3 separate regions of the Homo sapiens genome follow, and regions 1 and 2 are each linked to region 3. The links are contacts of gene promoters, found by promoter capture Hi-C in human tissues and cell types (Jung and others, 2019). All regions are on one chromosome and are shown on one strand. Each heading gives the region's core, a stretch centred on a gene start or on the middle of the fragment in contact. The rest is flanking DNA. Distances are from core to core; before and after follow the strand shown.

Evidence for each region. Contacts are between HindIII fragments. The study calls those that stand out against the background at their distance.
Region 1: a fragment that was not itself captured here is called in contact with the fragment with the promoter of GTF2A2 in region 3 in 1 of the 25 tissues and cell types used here (dorsolateral prefrontal cortex).
Region 2: a fragment that was not itself captured here is called in contact with the fragment with the promoter of GTF2A2 in region 3 in 1 of the 25 tissues and cell types used here (H1 embryonic stem cells).

Annotation. Positions count from the first base shown.
Region 1 is chr15:60,322,409-60,326,101 of GRCh38, reverse strand. No RefSeq gene overlaps it. Among named protein-coding and RNA genes, the nearest start is that of ANXA2, 74 kb to the left of the region's middle. The HindIII fragment of the contact is 3,315 bases long and covers 11-3,325 here.
Region 2 is chr15:60,276,009-60,279,427 of GRCh38, reverse strand. No RefSeq gene overlaps it. Among named protein-coding and RNA genes, the nearest start is that of ANXA2, 120 kb to the left of the region's middle. The HindIII fragment of the contact is 5,023 bases long and covers 1-3,419 here.
Region 3 is chr15:59,655,364-59,658,998 of GRCh38, reverse strand. GTF2A2 (general transcription factor IIA subunit 2) reads left to right here and starts at 1,484. Exons shown (of 5, transcript NM_004492.3): 1 at 1,484-1,593. RefSeq lists an enhancer at 1,448-1,677. The HindIII fragment of the contact is 8,151 bases long and covers 1-3,635 here.

The DNA.
Region 1 (3,693 bases), core at 419-2,918, 670 kb before region 3:
CTTTGAAGTTTCGCTTGTTTAAAGATAATTGTAAACCCAGCTCAATGGAAACAGCATCTCAGTCAATCAAGTGATTTGAGCATAGAGTAGAGGGAGTTAAATCCAGGTTAAATAATTGCACAAATCACATGTCGATCAATGTTCAAAGGATTTTTTTTCTCTCAAATCAAAGCTCTTCCATCTTACATTTGATTGGAGTATTGAAACTGGGTTATAGAAAAAAATGTTAAGGATGTAACAAGATTTAAAAATGTTAAGGATGTAACAAGATTTTTTTTTACTTAAAAATTATCCACCATTTATATAAAATCCTTTCTCTTTTTTCCTTTTGATTTTTACTTCATATATTCTATATAGCTTATTTTATTTGTGAATTAGGTAACACAAACATGTCACTGTCACAAAAGCATTTTTCTACATTCATAAATCCTTTCTGGAAATGAGAAATCATTTTTTTCTTAAACTCTGACCTAAGGTAAAAATTCCAAATATTTGCGTGCCTTGGATGGTATTGCAAAAAGGCCACCTAAACTAATGAGGTTTCTTGAATTGGTGTACAGAAATGAATTACAATGCTTAAGAAGTTGAAGAGATTTCTCGTGATTTTTAAAGTAATATTAATGATCGTATGGAATGAGAAATTGAGCTTTGTGTTATTACTATAGGATTAGTTTTTAGTTCCTGAAAGCTGGTCTATTTATAGGTATATAGGATGGAATTAAACTCTGAAAAGGTTAATTTTTAAAAAATGTTCTGTAGAAGGTCTATTTCCTATCACCTTTTATAAGTTTCCCTTTGAATTGTAGTTGCAATATGCATTTGGAGTGAGTCCAGGAAGCTTGAATAATAATGTAATCCCCGGGGGAGCCGCTCTTAGCAGAGTGGGTAGGATAAATGAAATGCTACATACAGATTCCTGACAATATATTCATCTTGATATTATCGCAGCTGATGGATTGTAGCAAGGCTGTTCCTAGGGCTTCCCTTTGCCATCTTCAGTGTCTTTATCATTTCAGTGCGAAAAAGAAAAACCCCATCACACAAAAGAAATAAAACATCGTTAATTGAAAAGTAGCACCTTAAAAATATTTGTGGTAGGAAAAATATTTGTTTTGCTGCAAGGAGAACAGAGAGTAGGGAATAAAAGACTAAAGAAGAGAGAAAAAGAAACCAGTGTCCTTTGCTGAGCTCGCTGGCCACATGTAAGGCTCTCAAACATTTTAACCGTTGCACATCATTTTCTTTTTCTTCTGTGTGCTTGTCTAATTTATTTTCATAAGAAAACTCTGTTCCTCTTGTGCGGAGCCAGCATAATGTCGCTGAAATCTCGGATGATGTGGTTTTAAGATCAAACAAGACTTAATAAGGTGGGATTTGTTTTCCTATTGACCTTCTTATTGCTTGGGTCCCCCTGACAAGCTTCGAAGTGAACGGGAGGAATTAGGGTAGCAGCTCTTCAGAGAAACTCATCTTGGCTGGGGCTCCACCTTGAAACGGGAGTGCAAGAGATTGCAAATGGCTCCAAACGAGGGGGCACACACAGACTTGCAAAATGGAAGCGGGTTCTTCCATTGCAGAAAGAAAGAGGGGCACCCAGCAGGATAAACATTCAAAGTGGAAGACACTGCTAGTGGATTTATTTTTATTTTAGGTTCTGACAGATTGGCCAATGTCCTTGATTGGAGTTGGAGTTCATCAGAATGACTAGTTCTGGCCTAATTTAAGAAACAAAACCTCCTAACTTTGTGGGGGCTGCTGGAGAGCAGGGCAGGGCATCATCCATCTAAGAGAAAAACAAAGGAGTTTGGTCCTTTTTTAAAAATGAAAGTTTCCTTAGGAGTCAAAACGGACTGAATTTAAAGGAAATTAAAGTGAGAAAAAGAGTTTTGTGAACAAATGAAACTCTCTTCCAGTAAAAGGAAAGAAGGAGGAGAAAAATGTTTGAAGGTGGGGCGAATGCATTGTTACTAAAAGTAAATAATTCCAGCCCAGTTTTGCAAAAATAGAGAATTGAACCCAACAGCCACTCACGGTCTTATCTGATACCCTAACTGAACTAGAGCGCATTTACAGTTTTTCTTCTATCAGGGTGAATAACACATGTTTCATGTTCTTACAGAACTAGCGTGGCAGCATTTGCCCACCACTGGTAAACAAGAAAAGATGTCTATAGATTCCCCATTATTTTAGGCGGCCACTGGAGTCAGCCCAGGCATTCTGAGCTGCTTCTGCCCATCTTTTAATATTGTCCTTCTGCCTACCTTTTAGTGTTGCAGAAAAGCATGCGGGAGAAACAAACAGAAGGGAGTAGCCAGGACAAGTCAAATTCTGTCGAAGACACTGAGACTCCCTGTGCCGAGAGCTGACTTCTGCAAGCTCTTTGGCAAGGTATTTACGGATGCAATATTTCTGTCAATTCTCCTCCCTTATTTCACTCTTTGTTCCCTTAATGGGCGAATTAGCCTCAGGTTCTTGCTAAATCTATTCCTTTTGGGAAAAGAAAATGATGTACATCGTTATAATCATGCACTACCAGGAGAAATGCCAGTTGGAGCAGAGTGTTCTCTTTCAGGGGTGTTTTTTCCCTTGAGAAGTGGCTGCTTGAATGTCAGCTGCTTGGTTGGCCTCACACTTTGTTTCCTCATTGTGGACCTGCGTGCAGTCCTGCGGGATGAAGGGAAGAAGATATTCACAACTGTCCTAGTGAAAAATTCAGGATGCACCTAGTTATATTTGCTCAAGGGACAACTTCTTTCACTGTTGGAGATAAGGAACTTAGGCCGGGCGTGGTGGCTTACGCCTGTAATCCCAGCACTTTGGGAGGCTGAAGCAGGTGGATCACCCGAGGTCAGGAGTTCAAGACCAGCCTCACCAACGTGGAGAAACCCCATGTCTGCTAAAAAATACAAAAATTAGCCAGGCGTGGTGGCTGGTGCCTGTAATCCTAGCTACTCCGGAGGCTGAGACATGAGAATTTCTTGAACCCGGGGGGTGGAAGTTGCAGTGAGCCGAGATCACGCCATTGCACTCCAGCCTGGGCAACAGAGTGAGACTCCGTCTCAGGGGCGGGGGGTGGAGTGGAAAAAGAAGGCACTCAAAGACCGGCTACTCCAAGCTTTTCATTTCACAGATGGGTAAACAGAGGCCCTTTGCAGTTCAGTGAATTGCTCAAGCTCCTCAAAGTGTAGTTTTTGGACCAGCAGCATCGGTGTTCCCTGGAGCTTGTTAGAAATGCAGCAACTCAATCTCTAACCCAGACCTAATGAATCAATCTGCAATTTAACAAGATCCTCAATGCATGGTAGAGTCTGAGAAGCACTGATGCCCCACACCCAAACTAGGATTATGGCACAGCTCAAAACTGCCTAATTTCAGCAAGTGTCATTACTTCTAAAAAAGATGCTGCCATAAACGATATTTTTAGCTACAGTAGGCCCATTGAAATGTAAAAATACTAAATGCGAAGAGGAAAAAGAGTGCTGCTATGCAGTGAGGGTGATGATAGGGGGAAATGGTGGTATTTAACGGTACAAGCTTTCTGGAGGGCAGTTTTGTAATAGTTATCAAAGTCTTAAAGATGCACACCCTTTGATCCAACAATTCCACGTCTAGGAAGTTATTCTGGAAAAATAACTGGACTAGGTTGAAGAGCTTTGTGAATAGAATATTGTAATATTTATGACAGCCAAAAGA
Region 2 (3,419 bases), core at 680-3,179, 620 kb before region 3:
GAACTCATCTTTCTGCATCCCTGGAATGGTCTCCTCTGCCTTTGTCTCTATTCTGGTTCATTCTCCACATTGCAATGAGAGTGATCTTTCCAGCAAATCTAATTTTGTCCCTTCCTCGTTCTAAATTTGTTAATGGTTCCCTCCACATATGCAGGAGAAAGTCTGAGCTTCTCTGCATGAATGAAAAACTCCATGATCTGACCTCCACCTAACTTGGCTAGCCTTGTCTCCGGTTCACTGCCTTGTTAATTTACATCCACACTGAACTTCTTTGTTTTTCTGAACGTGTTATGCTTCTCATTCTCTTACCTTTTCGTATTTTATTTCTTTTGGTCAGAACCCCATTCATCTCCCTGACAGCCCCCTATTCAGTTTCCTAGCCTCAGTTCCGGGGCTACTTTCTCTGTGAAGCCTGGAAAGGCATCACAGGGCAGCTTTCACAGACTCCCATGGCTGGCTCACGGGACCTCCCAATGCTTAGATTAAACCACGTATGCTGCCATTTTTGTGGTGAACATGGTTATCATAAAAGTGATTTTCTTTTGATGCCAGGGTCCATGTCATGCCATCTTTGAACCACCAGTCCCTCAGAGTGTCTTGTTTGTGGAAGGTGCTTTTGGAATGAGGGGGAGCTGAGTAAGACTAGGGACAAGGAAGCTATGAGAAGAAAGATGAGCAGGGACGCTGTGGGGCTGCATCCTGAGATTAAGGCAAAAGGACAAGTTACCTCTCTATAAATGCCAGTGCTGCACCTATGTCGTGGTTCCACCCTATTCACCCTGTGGTGGAGGAAGCTAATGGTCCAGCTGTATTCCTTCTTCTCTTCTTCCTTTAATAATTGAACTGGAGAGTTTAGTTGGGCATGCGGTTTCCCAGCCAGAGGTAACATCTCTCACATTCTCTTACAAGATATGGTCAAGTGGCAAAGTTCTGGCCAATGGGAAGTGAGAGGAAGAAATGTGTGGCAATTTCAGGTTGTGCCCTTAAAAGGCATAACGCACTTCCTCCTGGACATTTTCCTGCTCTACATTGCATATTCTGTAGATGTAGTGGTGGGTGTTAGAGATGGAAACACTCAGTTGCACATGGCAGAACTGCCCCACTAGCCTGGGCACCAGCCCATTGACTGTGAACATGGAAGGAAAGCTTCCTTGTCTGACCCATAGTAGTTTCAGATCTCTGCAGAGACTGTACCTAAACACTTATGTTAAAAAATCATGAAGCATTTCAAGCACACACAATTTTGATATTTTTTGTGATATGTACTTCATATATTTTCTTTTCCATTTCTCTTCACTTTCCATTTTAAACTAAATAACATGTTATGTTTGTAACATTTTTGTGTGTTTTAAACACAAAAAACATTTACAAAAAACAGCATACTTTTTCCAGTCACTATTTGGTTTTTGAGATTTGTCTGTTGATTCACATATGGTGGGATCAATATTTTAACTACTATGTACCATTTCACTGAATGAATAGAATTCAATTTTATATAGAATATAATTCCACTTAAATAACAGGATTCAGTGATCCTCTTATTGAGGCATCTTGAGGTTGTTTCTAATTTTTAACTATTATAAATAATTGCTATATAACCCTTGTACATGTCTGTTGTGCTTATATGCAAGATTTTCAGTAGAACAGACACCTAGAGACTCTTGGGTTTTAGAATATACACAGCTCCACTTTTACAGAATTTTGCTAAATTACTCTCCAAAGCCTTTTTGTTAAAAGATAAAAATGAGCATTATATCAGAGCTCCTATTGTTCTACATCTCTGCCATTATGTGATATTGCTGGGCTTTAAATTTTTTGTCTATTTGAGGAGTTTTAAAAATTTACATTTTTTGATTACTACCAAAGTTAAGCATCATTTTGTTACTTGACCATTCTGTTCCCCTCAACTGTGAACTGAATTAATTTTTATTATTAATTTAAGGGAGATTTATTTTATTTAATTTATAATTACCACTTTTATTTTAGATTTGGGGGTACATGTGTACGTTTGTTACATGTACACAGCATGATGCTGATATTTGGGGTATGATTAATCCTGTCACCCAAGTAGTGAGTATAGTACCAATAGTTAGTTTTGCAACTCTTGCCCCTCTCCCATCCTTTCCCACCTAGTAATCCCAAGTGTCTCTTGTTGCCATCTTTATGTCCATGAGCATCCAGTGTTTAGCTCTCTTAGAAGTGAGAACATATGATATTTTATTTTCTTTTCCTGCATTAATTCACTTAGGACAATAGCCTCTAACCTGCATCCATGTTGTTGTAAAGGATATGATTTTTTCTTTTTTGTGACTGTTTAGTATTCCATGGTGTATATATACCACATTTTCTTTATCCAGTCCATCATTGATGGGTACCTAGGTTGGTTCCATGTCTTTGCTATTGTGAATAGTGCTATCATAAACATACACACACATGCATGTTTTTGGTAGAATGGCTTTTCTTTTGGATATATACCTAGTAATGAGATTGATGGGTTGAATGGTAGTTCTGTTTTAAGTTCTTTGATAAATCTCCAAACTGTTTTCTACAGTGGCTGAACTAATTTACATTCCTACCAACGGTGTATAAGTATTTTTTATAATGTTTTGAATTTTTTATTTCCATAGGTTTTTGGGAACAGGTGGTGTCGGTCACATAAACAAATTCTTTTGTGGTGATTTCTGAGATTTTGGTGCACCCATCACCTGAGCAGTATAGTGTATAAGCATTCTTGAGGAAGTTTTAAAGAAAGATAATTTATTAATTCCTTGTTAGTTATATTTGAAAATGTTTTCTCCTTATCTTTATCTTATGTTTTTATCTCCTGGTATTTTTTTGCTATGCAAAATTTAAAATTTAGTATAGTCAAATTTATGGATCACTTTTTCTTAATAATTTCTGCTTGTTGAATCTTGTTTAAGAAATGTTTCTATACCCCAAGGCCATGTTGGATGTTAATTATAGTGTGAGGTATATGGAGGCTTTTTGTACTATCTTTGTAATTTTTCTGTAAATCTAAAACTTTTAAAATGAAAAAGTTTATTTAAAAATTACTGTGATTAGTATGTTAAAGAACAGATATTAAAATTGAAAATTTTACCAGAAAATGAGAATTTATAAAACATAATTAAGTGGAAATTATAAAAATAAAAATATAGTAAGTGAAATTAAAAGCTTCATATATGGATTTAACAGCACATTAGACTGTGAAAGAGATGAGCAATGAACTGGAAGACAGGTCAATAGAAAATATTCGGACAAGAACATGGAGAAAAAATGTATAAAATAAAGCATAAATGTAAGAGACATATGGAACAAAGTGGAATATTTTCAGTTAAAATTTATAAATGAAAAGAGGGAGATAATGTGGTAGAACCAATGTTTGAAGAGCTACCAAGCAAGGTTTCCAAAAATGAGAA
Region 3 (3,635 bases), core at 235-2,734:
AGTTCAGCCTGCTTTATTTTAACATCAAAACAATAATGAAACTTTGTGTTTCATAGTTGAGATTTTTTTTTAATTAATGGGGAATCCAAGGATGAAACCATGAGTGGCTTAAAATGAAAACATGGCTTTTTTTTTTTTTTTTTTTTTTTGAGACAGTTTCGCTCTTGTTGCCCAGGCTGGAGTGCAATGGCGCCATCTTGGCTCACCGCAACCTCCGCCTCCCAGGTTCAAGCAATTCTCCTGCCTCCGCCTCCCGAGTAGCTGGGATTACAGGCATGCACCAACACGCCCAGCGAAATTTTTTTTGTATTTTAGTAGAGACGGGGTTTCTCCACGTTGAGGCTGGTCTCGAATTCCTGACCTCAGGTGATTCGCTCACCTCGGCCTCCCAAAGTGCTGGGATTACAGGCATGAGCCACCGCCCCTGGCCGAAAACATGGCTTAAATAAGAAGAACTTGTTTAGTTCATAGACCTGCTCAGAGGTTCCAGCTGATACCACTTGGTGTTTTTTGTGGTTTTGTTGTTGTTGTTTTGCACATACTCTTTAATCACTATTCAGCTATTTTGTAGGATAAACTGCTCTACACATGACTGCTGGGTTTAAGCCAGTTAGTGTACCATGCACCCTGACACCTAAAACAATTTGTGATTTTGCAAACTTGAAATTTATAGTGAAGTATTTATCTTGCATATTAGATGCAAATTTTAAATATAACTTCTCCCAAATTAAAGTTCTTCATGAACTGGTCACAAACTAAAAACTTTGCCTGCAGCCCTGTTTCGAGGGGTAAAGAAGATACCCTGCTTACCCTGCTATAATTTTTTTTTTTTTTTTTTTTTTTGAGACGGAGTTTCGCTCTTGTTTCCCAGGCTGGAGTGCAATGGCGCGATCTCAGCTGACTGCAACCTCCGCCTCCCAGGTACAAGCCATTCTCCTGTCTCAGCCTCCCAAGTAGCTCGAATTACAGGCATGCGCCACCACGCCTGCCTAATTTTTTGTATTTAGTAGAGACAGGATTTCACCATATTATGCTGGTCGCGAACTCCTGACCTCCGGTGATCGACCCGCCTCAGCCTCCCAAAGTGCTGGGATTAAGGCGTGCGCCACCGCGCCCGGCCCCTGCTATAATCTTTTCAGAATTCGTCTGCAAGGTCTTCAACACTGTTACCCTGAACACACTTCCGGCATGAAATATGAATGCCCTACATTTCTTAAATTGTGCATCTAACAATGGAGAAGATTAGTCTCTAAAAATTATAATTCCCTTAGGAACGATTTAGTAAACCTGGTGAATTACTCGAGCAGAGCGCCTGTCCACCACTTTAAGGCTTCAAGCTCCAGCCCGACGCCCCTCCTTCCCTCTCCACGCCCTTCCCTGACAAGGCTTGAGTGGCGGGCGAGAGCAGGGCTGGGCGGGGCCTCCCGTCCCTCGGGCGGGGTGTCACTTCCAGGTTCCGCGAGCACTTCCGGGTCGTCAGCTCAGTTCTGCGGTTTCTGCGGCGGCTGGAGAGGTGGTCGGAGAAGTAGGAACCTCCTGCCGGGCTCGTGGCGGCTTCTGTCCGCTCCGCGGAGGGAAGCGCCTTCCCCACAGGTAGTGGGTTAGGGAGGGCAGGGTTAGGGAGGGAAGCAGGGCCGCGCTCCCTGCCGCCCCCCCGGAGTCGGAGTGCGTTGGTGGGGTAGTCTCTGAGGGCCCTTCGCTCCTGGGATCTGCCCGTTACCGACCGTTGCCGGCAAGGCCCCGCGGCCGGCACCGGAGAAGGGCGGCGAGGCGGCGGTGATGGTCGCGTCCCGTGGCGGGAGGCTCGTCGTTCACGGGGCGCCCACAGAACCCACCTAGGGGAGGTCTTCAGCCCACCACCGTATTTTCAGCCAGGTGAATGTCTTAAAGCATCCACTAGCGCCCTGTGAGTTTTGCCGAATTTCGGAGAGCATTTTTTAAATGTCTCATTCCTGTGCTTTGTAGCTTGTTGTTTGAAGTCTGCCTTCCAACTTTCTTCGTGCGAACTCCGACAAAAGGAACGAATTTTAAACTTGGTGGTTTAATCAAAAAATGCTAGGACGAGTTACTTCCGAATTTGACTTCTAATTTTCTGAACTGCAAAACAAGAAGGGAACAATAAATTTCTGTGGCTGATACCACATCTAAAAGATTAGAACACTTAACAAGGAATTTTTAAAGAATGTAAGAACATTGAAATCAGCACTTTTAACAAACGTTTAACGCAGGGCTATTTTCTAGATAAACTCAAAAATTTGTCAAATGGGACACGATGCACGATTCTGTATTCCTACTCTGTGGAGTTTTTATCTACCTATTGGGACTTCTTGCCCTTTTTAACCCCCTCTCCCCTCCCACACGCATATTATACTTACTGATATTTGCCTTCGTTTACTGAACAGATTTTTTTTTGGCTCCTATTGTGTGCCAGGTACTGTTCTAGACGCCTATTTTACTTAAGTGAACAAAATAAAAAGCTTTGCCCTCATGGAGCTTACATTCTATTAGAGGATGCAGAAAATAAAATATATAATGGTGTTAGAAAGTGATGGTGCCATCAAAAAAAAAAAGAGAAATATAAAGGAGTACGGGAAAGTTCCAGAGTGGAGGTGGGAACTGGTATTTTAAAGATGACGGTGGTCAGTTTGAGCCTCATTTAGTAGGTGTTATTTGAGCAAAGACTTGAAGGAATTAAGAAAATTTGCTAAGTAAATATCAGGAAGAGCATTCAGGCAGATAGGAAAGCCAATACAAATGCTTTTAGGCCTGTCATGTTTGAGGAATAGCAAGGAAGCCAGTGTATCTGGAGAGGGATGAGCAAGAGTTTTGGGGGTGGAGGGACAAGAAGATAAAGTCAAAGAGATCATGGTAGCCGGATCATTGTAAAGGCTGATAGAAGCCATGGGAGATTTTGAATAGAGGAGAGGTATGTTGTAACTGAAGTTTTAGAAGATCACCCTGGCTGTGAGTTGTGATTAGAGTGTAGGGGTGAGTGTAGAAGCAGGGAAATCATTTAGGAGATTTTTGCAGTAATCCAGATGACGAGAGTGGCCCAGGTCAGGGTGATAACCGTAGGGATGGTGAGAAGTGGTTGGATTCTGAATGCATTTTGAAGGTAGGCCTTACAGTATTTGCTAGGAATTGGATATGGAGAGTGAGATAGAGGGAGTGGAGGATGAAATCAAAGGTTTTGCCCAAGCTCGTAGAAGTATGGAGTTCTTTAAGCCACGATGCAAAAGATAACAAATAGAGATGTTGAGTAGGCAGCTAGATTCAGGAGTGAGAAGTTCTATGCTATATGAATTTGGGGATCATCAGCAGTGGTACTTAAACCATGAGAATAAATGTTATCCGTAAGGAATGGGTGTAGACGGAAAGCAGCAGAGGCCTAAGGACTGTGTCCTGTGATATTAAGAGTTTAGCGAAAACGGGATCAACCAGCAAACAGTATTAAGAAGGATGAACTTGTGAGTTAGGACAATCCGAAAAGGGCAGTGTCCCAGAAGCCAAGGTAAGATCCTGTACGAAAGAGGAGGGAGTAATCAGCTGTGTCCAATATTCTGAGTGAGGCTAGAGAATTAGCTTTAGCATTGCCATTGATGACCTTCACCAACCTGTTTCCTTAGAGTGCTAGA